2 separate regions of the Homo sapiens genome follow, and region 1 is linked to region 2. Evidence: promoter capture Hi-C in 16 types of primary human blood cells and fetal thymus (Javierre and others, 2016). All regions are on one chromosome and are shown on one strand. Each heading gives the region's core, a stretch centred on a gene start or on the middle of the fragment in contact. The rest is flanking DNA. Distances are from core to core; before and after follow the strand shown.

Evidence for each region. The method cuts DNA at HindIII sites, captures the fragments that hold promoters and counts their contacts. A CHiCAGO score of 5 or more calls a contact.
Region 1: a contact is called between a fragment that was not itself captured here and the fragment with the promoter of VPS36 in region 2, in 1 of 17 cell types (M0 macrophages). The highest score is 5.2, in M0 macrophages.

Annotation. Positions count from the first base shown.
Region 1 is chr13:51,891,444-51,894,250 of GRCh38, forward strand. It overlaps a transcript of TMEM272 not described here. Among named protein-coding and RNA genes, the nearest start is that of CCDC70, 31 kb to the left of the region's middle. The HindIII fragment of the contact is 1,926 bases long and covers 470-2,395 here.
Region 2 is chr13:52,449,068-52,451,945 of GRCh38, forward strand. It overlaps VPS36 (vacuolar protein sorting 36 homolog), which reads right to left and starts at 1,567. Exons shown (of 14, transcript NM_016075.4): 1 at 1,432-1,567. The coding sequence starts at 1,527. RefSeq lists an enhancer at 1,153-1,733 and silencers at 1,254-1,713, 1,754-1,813. The HindIII fragment of the contact is 2,912 bases long and covers 948-2,878 here.

The DNA of each region.
Region 1 (2,807 bases), core at 183-2,682, 560 kb before region 2:
TATCTCCCAACAGATTTGCTAAGGAGTTTACATGCATTTACTGAATTGCCCTGAAGCAGAAATTTGCAAACTCTGCTTTGAAAAGGTCCAGGGATTTCCAGAATGAGCCCAGGCTGGGGGAGGTGGTGAGGAGGGGATTGGGGCTCCTATGCCCAACTGAAGCACAGCACCTTCACTTTCCCTGCTTTGTGCATTATTTTCCTCAGTGACATGACATCTGCACGAAGGATTCCGCAGGGGTGGGTTGCAGGAGAGGGACAACTACTGTTCTAGGGAAATGGAAGGAAAAAGAGGCAGGACTGTGTCTTATTCATTTTTGATTCGAACCCCTAGCTTCTAGTCCTGAGTATTTGGAAAGAGTATTTGGAGGAGGGAAGGGTGAGCTTGATCAGGATTGTTTGCCCACTGGGCAGTGGGGGTTGGAGGGGGGCAAGGGCAGTCAATAGAATGGAATTGAAAGTCAAATAAAAGCTTTGTAAGGTCAATGATTTTTTGAAAATATGTGTAAACTTGTGTTAACCAAAATTCTGAAGATCAGGTGTATTAGTAATGCTATGCGAGCTCACATTTAGGGATTTGGCTTTCTCCCAGTGGCAATACGGTCCATTTTCATACCCAGATGTGGAAGAGGTGGGGAAACAGGGCTCAGGGAGAAGAGCTGAAAGGCTCTCCTTTCCCTGCCTCATCTGAGTCTCCTGTGGCACCTGCTGACTGTGGAGAAACTCAGGAAGAGCAGGACTAGTCTCTGCCCCTCAGGGGTGGTGGGATCTGAGACTCTTGGAAGACTGGGAATCTTTTCCTGTCAACCATCAATAGATATACTGGTTTATGTTTATCGAAGCCTGGAAGTGGGAACATCTACTCCGCTGTACACAGTTTTTCATCATCATTGTCATCTCATCTCAGCCTGGAACATCTGCTGTGCCCCAAAGCATGCAGACTTGTGTGGCAGAAAAATAGGGGGCACAGGTAGGCAAGTTATCTGCTTGCTTTCAGACCCATTACCCACCTTCCCCTACTCTGCTTGGTATTGTTGGGGGATGGCTTCTGTGCCCACTTGCTTCCTGTTAGATTGAGCCAATGGAGGCATGGATGGAAGAAGAGGGAAACTTGGTAATACACCAGCTCCACCTCCCTTTCCAGTCTTTTCTTGGGCAGTGACTACATCTCTCTCTGTAGGTGACCACATTTCCTCCTTGGACCCAGCTCCATCACACAGCCTCTTCTTGGCTTCCATTTCCCATTCCCCATGATGGCCTTTCCCCCATGGTTTCAGCCATAGGGTCCTCAGGTGGCATCTCATGCAGCCCCTCCTCCACAGTTCCAGCTCACAGTTCCTGGGTCTGGTGGCTCAGTCCCCTCCCTTTGTTCCTCCGTCCTAGCAGTGGTAATGGCTTCCTGCAGTTGCTAATCTCTGGGTTGCCTCACCCTCCCCTGGTTTTATAACGTCCTTCTAACTAGCCTGCTGTATTAAATTCCGTCCACAAAACTCCCTGCCTTTCTTTACTGCACCCTGACTACAACACAAAGGTAAATGAACCTAGTAAAAGTTCTTGGCTAATTTGTTCAGCTCTTCCCATTTTCTGACAAACATCATACATCCATCCTTCATGCTCCTTGAGTTGTCTGCACACACTCCTTAAACATCCACCTGTCCTTGGCAGTAACAATGAGCTCCCTGGCAAGGACTTTGTACCAGGGCCTTCTCTCCAAGGGTTCACAGGAACAGAAGTCAAACTAAGGAGACCTTCTCAGATGGAGATTAGCTTAGTTTTCTTTCTTTGCAGTTCTCGAGTATTTGTTTAGAGGATTAGGAGAGAGCTTAAATTATATCTGTGTTTTAGCCATTTTAATTTGCCAGTATTAAATGCATCAAAAGCTCTGTCTCCCTCAGTAAAGAAGTACATGCGAAAAGCATCCCAAATTAGAAAGTCTGGGCCTTGTTTCTGTGCTGAAGTATTGTCCCTCCTTCCCTGCACCCTAATCTCAGATCCCCCTCTTCCTTTAGCTTCACCAGGACCTGCTGCTTCAGAATCACTGTGGTCCTGAGACTAATCAGGAAAAAACAGCAACAACGATGAATGTGTGTTTTTCTGGGATTCTCCCCAAAACAATGTTTACTTTAGAGGAGCTGTACAAAAATCTCTTCCCCTGGCTCACACCGTATGCGCTTCTGCTTGGCCTCTTCACATTGAGAATGTGAACATTCAAATGATCAGCATCAGCTGAAGACTCGATCACCAGGGAATGTGATCGTGCTCAGAGGAGGCCACACAGTTGCTTCTGCGTTTGGGAAAATGTTTTTTATTTAATTAATGTTATTTATTGGATAGGTGCCCAGAATTAAGGTCAGTCCTGAAAAGACTGTTTTTTAAGATGTAAAAATAATTCCAAAAGCTTGTCATCTTGTTGTGGAGAAAACAAATATAATACATGAAATCCTCAATGCAGAACTTTGTATGATTTAAATAATAACGAAGATCACAATAGTAATAAATGATGAAGACAGTAGTGCTATATGCAGAGCAAAGAAGGAAGAAGTCATCACACAGGACGGAGCCTGGAAGGCCTGAGACAGGCCAGCAAGTTTCTAATCTTCAAATTGAGACTAAATGGATACAGACACACCACACCCCCTGCATTGAAGAACTGCTTGGGGAACAAGTTTGTAGTCATCACAACTTTAGAGGTTAAAAAGTGTCAGCAACAATTCAAATCATCAAGGAGGGAGTGGGATGTATTGGGACAGATAACTGTGAAAGGACAGGGACAGAAGTGGCTGCAGGCACAACTGGATTCAGGAACTA
Region 2 (2,878 bases), core at 317-2,816:
ACAGTGGCTCAAGAGCCTGTAATCCCAGCTGTTTGGGAGGCCCAGGCGGGCGGATCATTTGAGGTCAGGAGTTAGAGACCAGCCTGGCCAATGTGGTGAAACCCCGTCTCTACTAAATATGCAAAAATTAGCCGGGCATGGTTGCAGGCGCCTGTAATCCCAGTTACTCAGGAGGCTGAGGCAGGATCTTGAATCTGGGAGGCGGAGGTTGCAGTGAGCCCAGATCGCGCCACTGCACTCCAGCCTGGCGATAGAGCGAGACTCTGTCTCAAAATAAATAAATTAATTAATTAAATTAAGAAGTGCTAAGGCAGTAAGTGAAGTTAGGTCCAAGCAAATTATTTAAGGAAAAGACCTTTACTCACTAATACAGGCAACACAGCCCATAGAAAATGCCCTAAGAGAGTCAGAGGACCTGGGTCCAATGTCACCTGTGCCTCTAAATAGCTGTAAGCACTTACCAGGAAAAGCTGAGTTGAGGAACTTATATCAAAGTACAGCGGAAAGTGTCGTTAATAAAACGGCAAGGGAAGAGAGGTAGCAAATTAAAACTTCTGGAAACCAAAAATGCTTGTGGGTAAATGAGTTTTAAAATTTTTCTAATTCCAGTTTATCCATTTCAATCCAGGACAAGATATTTCATAGTTTCAGTAAAGTATCTACAAAATATTTACTTACACTTCCTATTTCTCCTCTCGATTTGCAAACGCACCTTCTAAGATTTATGCTTGCACTACAAGGCACGGTCTACTATTAATATAACACTTTACAAAACACGCTCAGAACGCCTTTCTAAAGCAATTAGAAAACAAAACAAAAACCCAATAGCCTTTGGCAAGGGCATTCCAATGAAGCACTGATACCTCTTTAGGAAATCCTTTCGAAGCAATCCCTCACCCCTCTGCCCAGATATGCTAATCCCTCCGACTGCATAAGGTCCAAGCTAAAGCTTCCGCTGGGGCACGGACTGTACGGCCACCGCGCCCTCCTCACAGAAAGGCGAAACGGGGCTGTCCGGTGCCGACGCCGAGGTTGGTGTCGTCAGGGGGTCTGGAACCACGCCAAGGAAGTCGACTGCCGGATCGCCGCCCGGCGCCCGCAGACGGCGAGCGCTCCTTCTCCCGGGCACTGCAGCTGTGCGCTCCCGGAAGCATTCCGGGCGGAGGGAAGCGGCCGCGATCCGCGCCTGCTGGGAACCGTGCCAAAGTTGGGACCCGCGCTGGGGAGGCAGCCGAGCGCCCCACGCCACGTGCTACCGACCGGCGGGGAGCGCAAGAGCGCTGCACCCCGCACAGAGGCCTGCCGGGCCGCCGAGGGCCGTGAGCTAAGCCGGGGACCGGGCCGCGCCGACCCGGGCCGCGCTGAGCCGGGCCGCGCGCCCACCGGGGGTCCCTTCCGCCAGCCCGTTGGGAAGGTTGGCAGACGCCCTACCTTCTCCTCGCCATCGTAGATTCGCACCCCGCGCTGCTGGATCACCAGGGTCTCGTTGATCTCCAGGAGGCCGCTGGTCCAAACGAAGCGGTCCATGGCCGCTGCCACCCAGCCCCGGCCCTCCGAGGCCGCGAGCAGCGCGCCAGGCAGCCTGCGGCGCCCCCTAGCGTCGGACGGGACGGAAGCGAGTCGGGGCGGGTGAGGGACGGAGGGAGCGGCCTGGCAGCGAGCGGGCGCGGCTGCGAGGTGCGCCCGGGGACGTGGAGACGTGCGTGGAGCGCCCCCTGGCGGTCCATTAGCCGCCGGCCTTTCAGAACCCTTGATCAGCAGGCGGTCCACCCCATTCTAAATTCAGAGCTTACAGGGACGCGAGGGAGCCCCGACCACAGCTTGGACTTGCTTATTGTGCATTATGCCTGCATGTTTGTGGCAGTTTTCTTGTCAGTGCCCAGAATGTTGCTACATTCGCTAATGATTGTAAATAATCATAACCCCTCTCTTTCAAATGAATATTTATGGCACGCATTGTTTCTGTACAGCTGCAGTCAGTACTACCTGTGCTGCTCTTTTTTTCCCTTTAAGATTATATTGTAACACAAAGGATAAATGCTTGAGGTAACGGATACCTCATTTACCCTGATGTGATTATTATACAGTGTATGCCTGTATCAAAATATCCCATATACCCCAGAAATATATACACCTATGTACCCACACAAATTAATTTTTTTTTAACTGGGGGAAACAGATTTTATTTAACCGGGCTTGATGCGCGCGCCTGTATTCCCAGCTGCTTCCGAAGCTGAGGCGGGAGGATTGCTTGAACCCAGGAGTTTGACACCAGTGGGCGACATAGAAAGACCCTTTCCCCCTCCACCCCAACTCCCCCACGCCACTCCACTCCCCCACCCCCAGGCTCAGAAAAAAAAGATTATTTTTATTTAGGCATTTTCAATATTAATACAGACCTCATGCGTGAATTTACATTTCAATATGTAGTTCCTCTATAATTTAGCTGTTTGTTGGTCTGCGCAAAGCCATCCATGGCCGCTGCTCTCACCCACCAGGCGGCCTCGTGCCCCTAGCCATTTCATTTTTGTATTTTGCTTTATAAATGGAACACCTGGCCGGGCGCGGTGGCTCACGTTTGTAATCCCAGCACTTTGGGAGGACAAGGCGGGCGGATCACAAGTCAGGAGTTCGAGACCAGCCTGGCTAACATAGAGAAACCCTGTCTCTACTAAAAATACAAAAAATTAGCCCGGCGTGGTGGCGGGTGCCTGTAATCCCAGCTACTCGGGAAGCTGAGGCAAGAGAATCGCTTGAACCCTGGAGGTAGAGGTTGCAGTGAGCCGAGATCGCACCATTGCACTCCAGTCTGAGCGACAGAACGAGACTCTGCTTCAAAAATAATAATAATAAATAATAAATAAATAAATAAATGGAG